Regions from separate parts of the Homo sapiens genome. Here all the other regions are linked to region 4. Evidence: promoter capture Hi-C in 16 types of primary human blood cells and fetal thymus (Javierre and others, 2016). All regions are on one chromosome and are shown on one strand. The core of a region is centred on a gene start or on the middle of the fragment in contact, and the rest is flanking DNA. Distances in the headings are between cores, read along the strand shown.

Region 1 (3,312 bases), core at 244-2,743, 120 kb after region 4:
GAGATCAGAAGAGAGAGAAATGATCCATGCACTGGTAAAAAGAGGCAGGGATGGGTTGGTGTACATATGCCCTGCAGACAAATGCCACACTGAGTCACACATGCACTGGTGGTCCTGCTGTCCGTGCAGAAAAGTTCAAGAGCAGAGTCCTCCACAATCCTTCAACCTGACTTTCTGGCTGTATGAGTTAGGGATGGGAGGGAGAGGCAATTATATTTTAAGTGTCTCCTTTCTAGAAGAACTGAGTGTTCTCTGAAGGACCATTCCAGCTGCAGAAGTACTTCTGAATGGGTGAAGAAAGGGCACTAAAATGTACCAAAAGATTTTGGGCCCAAGTGACATCCAGACCATTTTTCTTTTCTATTAAAGTAAACTGAAGTTTAGATAAGGGCTAGATTAAATTCAAGGAAACTCCTGATAACCATGTTAAGATCAACCACAGTAGGCTGAGTTTTACTGAAACCTTGGTCCTCTTAAGCTACTACATACTGATTCTATTATAAGTACATTTTGATTCTCCCCAGAAACTAAAAATACTTAAAAAAAAAAAAAAAAAGAAAAAAAGAGGGAACCACCACGGGTGCATCACATATATGGAAATACCTATCCGCCAACCAGGAGCGGTATTAGTGCACTCCAGATGCAGCCGAACTCCACCATCCAGGCTGCCAAAGGGGAGACAGAGAAAAGGGGGATTAAACAAGAAATACCCAGTTTATGTAATTCACACACAAATCCAGGAAGCACATAAAAGTAAGATAACCACTTACCTTCACAAAACACAGGGGGAGAAATGCAACATAGTAGGCACTGAAGAGGGAGTTGAAGAGAACCTCCTTGATTCTGTGGTTGAAATCTGCTTTCAGACATTCTACTTCATTGCGAATGAGGTCTGGAGATAGGGGACAACTGTGGGTGGGGATGGGTGTGGCATTATTAAACTGTTCTTTTAGCGACTCCAGCAACAAGGAGAGAAAGTCTTTGGATTTGGCCAAGCCTCCCACAGTCGAGGCACTTTCCTCTACTGCCTCGTGCTGAACCACATAGTTGTAGTCTGTGAGAAGAAGATGTGCTCTACTATCTTGATGAAAACAGCAAAGAGGAACATAAACACCAAACCTGTAAAACAAAGTGTGAAAATGAGACCACAGATACCACCTAAAATCACACCTTATAACTTACGTCAATATAACTTATAACTTAGGTCAATAAAATAGTCAGGACCCGCAGGAGTAAACATAACTCAAGAGGGACATTGCTGATAGTAAATTCATTATCTGGGGAGCTCTTCAATTTCTTTCCATAAGAGCAGTGCACATTCATTGTAGATTATTAAGAACCTACAGAAAAACCACAATGGCAAAACACACATCACTTAGCAATAATCATTTTTATAACTAGATGCACATATTTCCAATATAAAGTTTGTAAACTTTGTATTATAGTTACATATGCTTTTTTCCTTTTGTGTTTGGCTTCATACAGTACCATGTGTTTTGTATCCTGCTGTTTAAACTTTGTATGTGTGCATGTGTGTATATTGAGTATTTTCCCTGTGTAGTGAGTATTTTCTCAAGTCTAAATATTTTTCTATAGAAATTTTTAAAGATACAATAGTATTCTCATATAGAAATACCATAATTTACCCATTTCTCTCTTGTTGGAAACAGGCTGTTTCTTATTTTCCACTACTATAAATAACAATGTGATAAGGATTTTCCCAATACGTGTGTACGTTTGGTCATTTTAGTACAGCTTGTTCTTTACTTCAAATGTCCCTTTCTTAGTAGGGGGCCCTCCTGCCTCCCTACTGTATCACCCATCCCACTCCCACAGGCGACCCTTCTTCTCCTTTCCTGCTTATTTTTCTCCACAGATCTTACCATGTTTATTCGATTTTTAACTTTGGGGGTAGTTTTGTTTGTTTTCTTTCTTAGTCAATCTTCCCTTCACTACAATTTAAGCTCTATGAACCAGAGATTTCAACGTAATTAATTCACTGCTGTAACTCTGGTACCTCAGATAGTGGCTGTAACACTGTTTAAGTATGCAATAAACTTCTCATTAATAAAAAAAAATTCTGGAAGTACAAATGAATTTCTACCAGTAAAATTAATTGGTTAAAGAAGTGAACATTTTTGAGACTTCTGATAACTTCTTATAGTATTCCAACTGTTGGTTCCTTAAAATTTGTTTAAATACTTCAAGTCCTCATTAAGTAATTTCCACATTGTGACCTAGGTATTATAAATTAAATGGTCATTTCATGCACATAAATTCAGATATGAAAAATAGCAAATAAAAAGATATTTAGGGCCAGGGACAGTCCCTCATGCCTATAATCCCAGCACTTTGGGAGGCCAAGGCGAGCAGGTCACCTGAGGTCAGGAGTTCAAGACCAGCCTGGTCAACATGGTAAAACTCTGTCTCTACTAATAATACAAAAATTAGCTGGGTGTGGTGGCGCGCACCTGCAATCCCAGCTACTCGGAGGCTGAGGCAGGAGAATCACTTGAACCCTGGAGGTGGAGGTTGCAGTGAGCCGAGACTGCACATTGCACTCCACCCTGGGCAACAAGAGTGAAACTCCTTCTCAAAAAAAAAAAAAAAAAAGATATTTAGTTATACATTTTATAACAAAATGAACAGATGACACTTATCCATAGTTTTCTACAGAGGGAGAACTGATGTTACTAATTAAGAACATTCTTAGCATTAGCTCTGGGATCTACTGTGAATGTGCCCTTGGGAGGACAAGAGTGGGTAGAAGTAGAAGTATTAATTCTAATTTTTTTTTTTTTGAGACAAGGTCTTACTCTGTCACCCAGACTGGAGTACAGTAGCGAGATTACGGCTCACTGAAGCCTCAACTTCTTGGGCTCACGCAATTCTCCCGCCTCAGCCTCCTAAGTAGCTAGGACTACAGGCGCATGCCATTACACGCGGCTAATTATTTTATTTTTGGTAGAAACAGGGTCTCCCTATGTTGCTCAGGCTGGTCTTGAACTCCTGAGCTCAAGTGATCCTACCGCCTGGGCCTTGCAAAGTGGTGGGATTACAGGTGTAAGCCACCGCACCCAGACAGAGAAGAAGTATTAGACAAAAATCTCTCACATGTGCATATCTGTGATGGCTAGAGCAGGTCATCAGAAGTTCAATGCTGCCAAAACACAAGCTGCATGTGTAGGTGTAGAGGTGGGGATAAGAGGCTGGAGTGTGTGGTAGATTGTAATGATGGCCCCAATTCTTTACCCTCCTTTGTAGTCTCACTGCCACATAACTGCATGGCCCTCATTCTATGGGTGAGGCGAC
Region 2 (3,108 bases), core at 282-2,781, 98 kb before region 4:
CCACCATAGTTTGTTCTAGGTGTTTATGTCCTGCAGCTTACACACAGCCGGGGTTTAAAGTCAGTACCTGAGGCAACAGTCACCTACATCAATGTTACTTAAGAATTCTCTTAAATTGCCCAAAGTGAGAGAGCAACACAGAAGCCCAGAACAAATGAGGTATCAAGAGACTCACTTTCCACTTCACACTCACGTAGAGTACATACTGGTGGAATCTCCAGCATTATTTGATAGTTTCACAGTTCTTTCTCTCCTGCCTTCTTCTTCCTCTCTTCATTTGTCCCTCTCTCCCCTCCTTACCAAGTGCTTATAGTTGTATTTGCAGAAATGCAAAATTAACGCAACTCCACTGTAGCTACCTGTCTCCCCACACTGACACTCAACGGGGAGCCCTGTGAGGGCAGGTGCTCTGCCTTATTCAAACTGGTCTTATGGCCTCCAGCACAGTCAGCACCACAGATATGAGCACCCATGAACAGCAGGGCCTGGGGAAAGCTGACAGGTAAGTGTGCACACAAATGAGGGAATATAGTGTTTCATTTGCAGAGAAACATTCTGTGTCACTATTCCCGCTTGGTTGTGCTTGAATAGGAGCTGGTGAATCAAATAAGGCTGAAAAGCAGCTACACCCTTCTTAAGGGTGGAGGGGATGGGGAATGAAGACACAGATGATGGCATCTGGCACTTCTCACAGTGGCTTTGAGAGAAATGAACTTGTCCTGGGTGTCCTGGCTCCCGAGAAGACTACTCAGAGGACATGCCCTCCCCCACCTCTCCCCATACTCTAGAAAGAGGCCACAGTCTGGAAAGTGATGTCTCAACAGAGGTCTCACTAAGGACACCAGCCTGTTGCCTCCTAGAGGGGGAGTCAGGAATAGACAAACAAGTTACTTGCATTCTAGTCAGTGTGGGAAAGCTTGCGAAAGCCCCCCGACAGGGGCGCTGCGGGTGAGACTGGCCACCACCTGCAATGCTTGGATGATATTTCTCTCCAATGCTTTCCCTTGTCTTTGTGATCCTCTGCTGAAGTTGTAGGGCTTTTTCCTCATTACATTCTCTAACTTCTGTTTTGCACTTTAAGTGATGCATACATTATGGACCATTTTTTCTATTTCTCATTTTCTTATGACACTCTGGATGCTTGTTCCACCCAGTCTTGATCACAATAGTTGAGCTTCTCGACCTAAGCCACCCTCAGCAGAACCACCTTACCTGTACCCAGTGCTGTTCCTGCCAACCACCAGATGCTTGGGATGCTCCTCACACTTGTAAAGGTTAAAGTCATTCTCGGGTACCAGGTCCACATCGTGGAATATAAAGCAGTCCCAATTTTCTTCCTTGAGGGCTTCTAGATAGCCCACATTCAAGAGTTTGGCTCGATTAAACTTTTTACCTTCAGCCTAGAGATATGAAAATTAAAACTTGAAAAGCTCCTGAGATAAAGTTTCATATTGTTTGCCTCTTAGTTAGGATTCAGGAGATGGTATTATTCTAATTATTCTACGCACGAGACTACACTTGTGACATAAAGATCTGACAGAGAAGATGCAATGACAATAAAAGACCATTTGATTTTTTTCTTCGTGCTTCACACATACTTATATTCCAGAACTTAGAAACAGTCCTTGAAATCCAAAGACTTGTTGTTTAATGATAGAGAGTTCCAGTTTTGCAAGATTAAGTTCTGGAGATTGATTTCATAAATACACTGCATATATTTATGCAACCAATATATTGCATAATTATGCATAGATACATTGCATGTAAATATTCTTAACATTACTAAACTGCACACTCAATAATAGTTAAGATAGCAAAAATTTTAAAAAGTTAAAAAAAGTTAAGATGGTAAATTTTACATCGTGTGTTTCACAATTAAAAATTTTTTAAAAGCAGCTTTAAAATACAAATAACTCAAATAATCAATAATAATGTACACTTAAAATGTATTGAGTATAGCTCTCATGTTAAATATTCTTACCACAGTTAACAAAAAAAAATTTTCTCTTAAAATTTTACAAATACCTTTACGTATTCTGTATAAAACTACAAAACCTTTCTTATATACTAGTCATGTCAATTAGTATTACTGCTTCACAGTTCAACCCTAGGTAATCCCAATCTTACCCTCTGTTATGAATTTACACTAAGCTTCTAAGAGACTTAGTTAATAGCTTGCCAGAAAGGATCAAGAAATCTCAACCTATAGAAAGAGAAAGTTATTGCTAATATTTCTAAGCTACTTTAAAGTTTCTCAGAAATCCCTGTAAGAGAATCCTGTTATAATGCTACTGGTGGAGGCTAATCCTCACAGTGGCCTTATGGAGGTAGATTCGTCACTGGGCAATAAAAGAACACAGTTTGACCTGTAATATGATTGAAGCTGTAATAAAAAAATTAAATAATTTTTTCATGGCTGCTTCATTCAAATTCCTTCAGAATGAATTCCAGTTAAGTGGTTTATCATAAAAGTGCAAGTATTTCTCAGAAGTTACCACAATGTTTTCCTGATAAGAATAACACGAAGCAGACATATTTTTCTCTTTCTCTTTTTCTTTTTTTTTAATTTGAGATGGAATCTCGCTCTGTTGCCCAGGCTGGAGTGCAGTGGTGTGATCTTACCTCACTGCAGCCTCCACCTCCTGGGTTCAAGTGATTCTCCTGCCTCAGCCTCCTGGGTAGCTGGGACTACAGGCATGTGCCACCACACCCAACTAATTTTTTTTTTTTTTTTAGTATTTTAACAGAGTATTTTGTATTTTTAGTAGAGACAGGGTTTCACTATGCTGGCCAGGCTAGTCTCAAACTCCTATCCTCAAGTGATCCACCCACCTTGGCCTCCCAAAGTGCTGAGCCACCGGGCCTGGCCCAAAGCAAACATGTTTTTCTATTCATAAAAATAGTACTATACCTTGTAGGTTACTGTCCTGAGCAAGAACTCAGAATCAAATAAATCATAACTATGACCAACAACCTTAAAAACAAAAATAGCTATAAAACAATATAATAGTAACATTTTGTTCCAAGTACTAAAATACAGACATAGGTGTGCTATATAAGCACACTGATTTTCAAGAGCCTCAGTTTATCACCAAGTCTATACTGCAG
Region 3 (3,050 bases), core at 186-2,685, 75 kb before region 4:
AAGAGGCAAGAAACATCAACATTCCTGTAGATGAAAAGAGGTCCTGACTGATCTGAATAGCTGAAACACTGGGACAGGAATGAGACTGTGAGGTGAATAGCTTGATGACCTGAGAAGGGAGCTGAGGTAGCTCCTACTCCTCACCCTGATAAAACCTCAGGACATCAAATTGTGAGCTCCCGCAGCCATCCTCATCAAGGCTGGGGCCTGAGCCCACCATTGGGATTATATCTATTCACCTGCTTTAGCTACAACTAGTACCTACCCAAGAATACCTCCCCTATTGGCCTGAAGCCTGAATCGTCAACTCAGTAAATAAAATACTGGGGAAAAATTAAACAAATAAATATAGACCACAAGAGAATGAGATAAGCTTCAAGAGATCCCTGCCATTCCAAGTTCATAGGAGACAGTGAACTTGCCCACATACCAAGTACATAACTACTACAATCAGCATCAGGAGAGCCAGCACACAAAGACTCTCTATAACTAAGGAACTCATACAGAGTCTTCACCCCTGCAAGCACCAAGAATCAAATTAGACTGGAATAAATATTAAGGTCTAATCCTTAAGAGGGAAAAAATAAATTAAAAAAGCACAATCCCATCAAAAATAAATTCAAGAACAATTTGAAGAAATAGTCTACCAAAAGGAACCAGAAAAGTAATTCTGATAATATGACAAAACAGGGTTCTATGATACCCCCAAAATATAGTAGCTCCCCAACAATGGATCCAAACAAACAAACAAAAAATCTCTGAATTGCTGATAAAGAATTCTGAGGGTTGATAATTAAGCCACTCAATGAGAAGCCAGAGAAAGATGAAAACCAAATTTTCATTTTTTTAAAAGAAATTTAAAAAACAATACAGGATATGAATGGAAAATTTTTCAGAGAAATAGATATCATAATGAAAAAGCAATCACAACTCCTGGAAATGAAAGACATACTTACAGAAATACCAAATACAGGGGAAAGTTTCAACAATAGACTAGAACAAGTAGAAGAAAGAACTTTAGAGCTCAAAGACAAAGCTTTCATATCAACCCAATCAGACAAAAAAAAAAAAGAAAGAAAGAAAAAGAATTTTAAAAAATGAACAAAGCCTGCAAGAAATATGGGATTATATTAAATGGCCGAAGTTAAGAATAATTGGCATTCCTGAGGAAGAGAAATCTAAAAGTTTGGAAAACTTATTTGAGGGGATAATTGAGGAAAACGTCAATGGCCTTGCTAGATATCTAGACATCCAAATACAAAAAGCTCAAAGAACTCCTGGGAAATTCATTGCAAATAGACCACCACCAAGGCACATAGTCATCAGGTTATCTAAAGTCAAGACAAAGAAAAGAATCTTAAAAGCTGTGAGACTGGCTGGGTGTGATGGCTCACATCTGTAATCCCAGGACTTAGGGAGGCCAAGGTGGGAGGATCAACTGAGGTCAGAAGTTTGAGACCAGACTGGCCAACATGGTGAAACCTCATCTCTACTAAAAATACAAAAATTAACCAGGCATGGTGGCACATGCCTGTAATCCCAGCTACTTGGGAGGCTGAGGCAGGAGAATTGCTTGAACCTGGGAGGGAGAGGTTGCAGTGAGCTGAAATCATGCCATTGCACTTGAGCCTGGGCAACAAGGGTAAAACATCATCTCAGAAAAAAAAAAAAAAATCTGTGAGACAAAAGCATCAGGTAACCTATAAAGGAAAACCTATCAGATTAACAGCATATTTCTCAAAAGAAACCTTAGAAGCCAGAGAGGACTGGGGTCCTATCTTTAGCCTCCTTAAAGAAAATAATTGTCTACCAAGAATTTTGTATCCAACAAAACTAAGCTTAATCAATGAAACAGAGATAAAGGTTTTTTCAGACAAATGCTGAGAGAATTTGCCATTACCAAACCAGCACTACAAGAAATGCTAAAAGGAGTTCTAAATCTTAAAATACAATGTTTAAATACACCAATATAGAACCTCCTTAAAGCATAGATCTCACAAGGCCTATAACGCAATAACACAATTAAAAAAAAGTATTTAGGCAACAGCTAAAATGATGAATAGAGCAGTACCTCACATCTCAATACTAATGTTGAATGTAATGGCCTAAATGCTCCACTTAAAAGATACAGCATGGTGAAATGGATAAAAATCCACCAACCAAGTATCTACTGTTTTCAGGAGACTCACTGAACACATAGGGACTCACATAAACTTAAGGTAAAGGGGTAGAAAAAGATATTTCACCAAATGGAAATCAAAAGCAAGCAGGAGTAGCTATTCTTATATCAGACAAAACAGATTTTAAAGTAACAGCTGTAAAAATAGGCAAAGAAAGACGTTATATAACAATAAAACAATTAGTCCAACCGGAAGATATTACAATTCTACATATATATGCACCTGACACTGGAGCTCCCAAATTTATAAAACAATTACTACTAGACCTAAGAAATGGGATAGACAGTAACACAATAATAATGGAGGACTTCAATACTCCGCTGACAGCACTAGCCAGGTCATCAAGACAGAAATTCAACAAAGAAACAATGTACTTAAACTATACTGTAGAACAAATGAACTTAACAGATATTTACAGAACATTCTGCCCAACAACTCCAGAATATACAATACATTCTTCTCATCAGCACATAGAATATTCTCCAAGACAGTCCATATGATAGGCCATGAAACAAGTCTCAATAAATTTAAGAAAACTGAAATCATATCAAGTAGCTCCACAGACCATAATGGAATAAAACTGGAAATTAACTCCAAAAGGAACTCTCAAAACTAGACAACTACCTGGAAATTAAATAATCTGTTCTTGAATGATCTTTGGGTAACAATGAAATCAAGATAGGAATTTAAAAATTATTTGAACTGAATGATAATAGTGACACAATTTATCCAAACCTCTGGGATACAGCAAAAGTGGTGTTAAGAGGAAAGTTCATAGCATTAAATACCTACATTGAAAAGTCTGAAAGAGCACAAATAGACAACCTAATGTCATACCTCAAGGAACTAAAGAAACAAGAACAAACTAAC
Region 4 (3,105 bases), core at 169-2,668:
AAAATTTTAAAATCAATGTTTTCATACTTTTTAATAATACATGCTTATCCTCATTGTAGATAAATTGGGAAATACATAAATGTTTTAGAAAGAAAAAAATACTTGTATGTAATTCTATCACCCAAAGATGTAACATTTTGGTGGATTTCCTTCAAGTGTTTTTTTTCTATGTACATTTTCATATTGTGATTACACTGTGTGTGTGTATATATATATTATATATATATATGATTTTGTGTCTTGCTTTCTTATAACCGAAGTCTTTATTCAAGTTATAAAACCCTACATATAACATTTTAAGGCTCCGTAGGTTTTGTTTTGTTTTGAGACGGAGACTCGCTCTGTTGCCCAGGCCAGAGTGCAGTGTCACGATCTCAGCTCATTGAAGCCTCTACCTCTCGGGCTCAAGTGATTTTCCTGCTTCAGCCTCCCAAGTAGCTGGAACTATAGGCCCACACCACCACGCCCAGCTAACTTGTTTTTGTATTTTTAGTGGAGACGGGGTTTCGCCATGTTGGCCAGGCTGGTCTTGAACTTCTGACCTCGGGTGATCTGCCCGCCTCAGCCTCCCAAAGTGCTGGGATTACAGGCGTGAGCCACCACGCCCGGCCCATAGTAGTTTATCATATAAATATGCCAGTTTATTCCCTGCCTCCATTACTGGACATTTATAGTTATGATTGTTTTAATTTTATGAACAAGCCCACAGTGAATATTGTGAGGCATATGGCTCTTTTGTTATGTAATATTTCTTTGGAATAAACTCCCAGAAGTAAAATTGCTGGATTAAAAGGTGTGTTATTAGTCAGAACTCTCTTGGTTGTGACTGAAGGAACTCTGACATAAGAAAAAAAGTGGGGGTTAATTACTGATTCATAGAAGCAAACTTTGGCAAAGACAAGAAGGGAGCTGGCTTTAGGGAGCTGGGACCAGAGGCTGGAATTTTAACCTCCTGACTTTCTCCTTGTCTCTTGAATTTATCTTAGACATAAATGAAAATAGAGGTAACTCAAAGCGTCTAACCCACAGTGACAATTGCTGCTCTGTTTTTAGAGCCGGGATTTTGTTCGTGGACTTGCCTTGCCTGGTGGTTGAACTTTGCAGCCCCTTCCTCCTCCGGGCAGCTTCTCTCAGTGGCAGCTGTGTTCCCCATGGTTTGTCCTGGATGTCTCCCTTGTGCCATCCTTGCAAGCCCGCGGCCAGCGCCTCCACCCACGCTCCGGCCTTGCTCCCACTCCCACCGCTCTGCCACCTCCCACCTCAGCCTCCCACCTTGGTGTGGAGGGACCAGCGTCGAAGACAAAGGAATCTCTGACGAGAACCGGCCAGTCCGGGAGGGACGGCGGGGAAGGGGGTGCTGCTCTGGCGGAGCCCTCACTTCACTCGCTTCCCCTCGAGCGCCCCTCTAGGCTGGGGCCCGGCCGCTCTGGGCCTGCTCCTCCTCCCGCTCCTGTTGCGGGGCACCAGGTCAGACCCTACAGGGGGCTCCGCCAGGGGGAGGGGGAGAGGGGCTCCCTTCAAACTCGGCCCGGCCGCGGGGGTCCCGGGTGCCCTCTGCTGGGCTCCTTCCACGTCCTTGTCCCTCCTGAACTCCCGTTCCAGCCCTGCCCCCGCCCCGCAGTAGGGAACGGACTCGTTTCTGCCCCGCCCCGGGGTCCGGGCGCCCGCCCGGCGCTTCAGCTTCAGCAACGTCAAGGCCACGTTCCCTCCGCTCCAGCTCGAAAGACGGTGGCGCTGACTCTGCTCTGCGCGCCGCAGCTTCCTCCCGCTGCTCCGCCCAGCGGTTTCTGATCCCCTTTCGGCGCTGGGGACTCACACGCTGCGGCGACAGGAAAGCCCGCGCCCCCGGCCGCTTCCCGGAACGCCCTCGGGGACGGCTGAGTCACTTGGCGCCCGCCCGCGCGGCCACCGAGCCCAGAAGCGGGGAAAGCCCAGAAGCGGGGAAACCCCAGGGACAGCCGCCGGCCCTGGGGGCAGCCAGCGCTCCAGGCCGCCCAGCACCTCGGGCCCGGATGGGCTTCTCGCGCCCCAGGGCTGCGGCCACACCCCGCCGGCCCAGACCCCGCGGGTAGAGAAAGGAGGTGCAACCCTGAGAGCCAAGACGTTGGGCTTGGCTTTGCTTTGCGTTTCTTTCCTTTTTTCTTTTGTTTCTTTTCTTCTTCTTTTTTTTTTAACCACATCCAGGAAGAGGAGAAACCTGTCTCATGACAGGAAACGAAGAGGGAGGATGCATCCGAACTGAGGGACATTGTTTCAGTTGCCTCACCTGACATACTGTCTCACCTGAGAGAGGGAGGCCGAAGAGGCAGCCAATGGTGGCTGGAGCAAGCCCTGTCCTCGTTACCTGGGCTGTGGCTGAGCCCTGGGGCTCACCGGCTGTATGGCCCTGGGCAAGTCCTCGGAGCCTTAGGTTCTCTGCAAAATGGAGATGATGTTTAATAGAAAATGTTTCTATAACTTTTGTGGCTTACTTTTTGAAAAGCGAGGGAGGGACTTTTGTCCTTCCCTCCTCGCATCTCAGTCGCAGTGCTGGTTCACAATCAGGCTGTTAACGCGGTTTCCACATTTCCTGTCCTCCCCCTTCCCCTTTCCTGCTGGGAATAAGAAGGTGGGCCCCCAAGGAGACAGAGGGTACACTCGTAAATGAAAAAGAAAAGTCAGCACAAGGACCCTTTGCTGCGGAGATTTCTTTTTCCAGGTATCCTAAGTGGGGCTCTTGCCATCCCTGCCATCCCTGCTCTACACCGAAGGGGTGAAGTCCTGGGACTCTGTTATGCCCATCTGTATGTAATCCTAGGCAAGATTATTACAGTAGCGCTTTCCTCTTTTTAGAATATACCCTTGTCTAGCCCCTACCCCATCTTCAGGACAGTAAAGGTTCTCAACTCACTTCAAACCCTCCTAGCCGTCTAGAACAGTGGCTCACAACCGCAGACCCATAGGAAATGTAGGGCCATCTATGTAATAAATTTATCCGGATGTATTATAACAATTTTAAGGTTACACTTGTCCTTTCTTGAACAGGACAATTCTTTATTCTAAGACTATATGCTTCATAGTTTTAGTTATTTTGAATTGTCCATTCTGTTATGAAATACGATAGTT

What was found. The method cuts DNA at HindIII sites, captures the fragments that hold promoters and counts their contacts. A CHiCAGO score of 5 or more calls a contact.
Region 1: a fragment that was not itself captured here is called in contact with the fragment with the promoter of ARHGAP31-AS1 in region 4 in 1 of 17 cell types (activated CD4 T cells); the score reaches 5.3 in activated CD4 T cells.
Region 2: a fragment that was not itself captured here is called in contact with the fragment with the promoter of ARHGAP31-AS1 in region 4 in 1 of 17 cell types (activated CD4 T cells); the score reaches 5.7 in activated CD4 T cells.
Region 3: a contact is called between a fragment that was not itself captured here and the fragment with the promoter of ARHGAP31-AS1 in region 4, in 1 of 17 cell types (activated CD4 T cells). The highest score is 5.8, in activated CD4 T cells.

The regions. Positions count from the first base shown.
Region 1 is chr3:119,436,985-119,440,296 of GRCh38, forward strand. It overlaps TMEM39A (transmembrane protein 39A), which reads right to left. Exons shown (of 9, transcript NM_018266.3): 6 at 771-1,119. Among named protein-coding and RNA genes, the nearest start is that of TMEM39A, 25 kb to the right of the region's middle. The HindIII fragment of the contact is 5,541 bases long and covers 1-3,312 here.
Region 2 is chr3:119,222,846-119,225,953 of GRCh38, forward strand. It overlaps B4GALT4 (beta-1,4-galactosyltransferase 4), which reads right to left. Exons shown (of 8, transcript NM_003778.4): 5 at 1,213-1,400. Among named protein-coding and RNA genes, the nearest start is that of B4GALT4-AS1, 2.1 kb to the right of the region's middle. RefSeq lists a silencer at 2,443-2,615. The HindIII fragment of the contact is 1,235 bases long and covers 915-2,149 here.
Region 3 is chr3:119,246,700-119,249,749 of GRCh38, forward strand. All of the region lies in intron 3 of B4GALT4-AS1 (B4GALT4 antisense RNA 1), which reads left to right. Among named protein-coding and RNA genes, the nearest start is that of B4GALT4, 7.3 kb to the left of the region's middle. The HindIII fragment of the contact is 802 bases long and covers 1,035-1,836 here.
Region 4 is chr3:119,321,342-119,324,446 of GRCh38, forward strand. It overlaps ARHGAP31-AS1 (ARHGAP31 antisense RNA 1), which reads right to left and starts at 1,419. Exons shown (of 2, transcript NR_046748.1): 1 at 1,273-1,419. All of the region lies in intron 1 of ARHGAP31 (Rho GTPase activating protein 31), which reads left to right. RefSeq lists enhancers at 1,090-1,947, 1,948-2,804 and silencers at 1,367-1,726, 1,777-2,126. The HindIII fragment of the contact is 4,466 bases long and covers 1-3,105 here.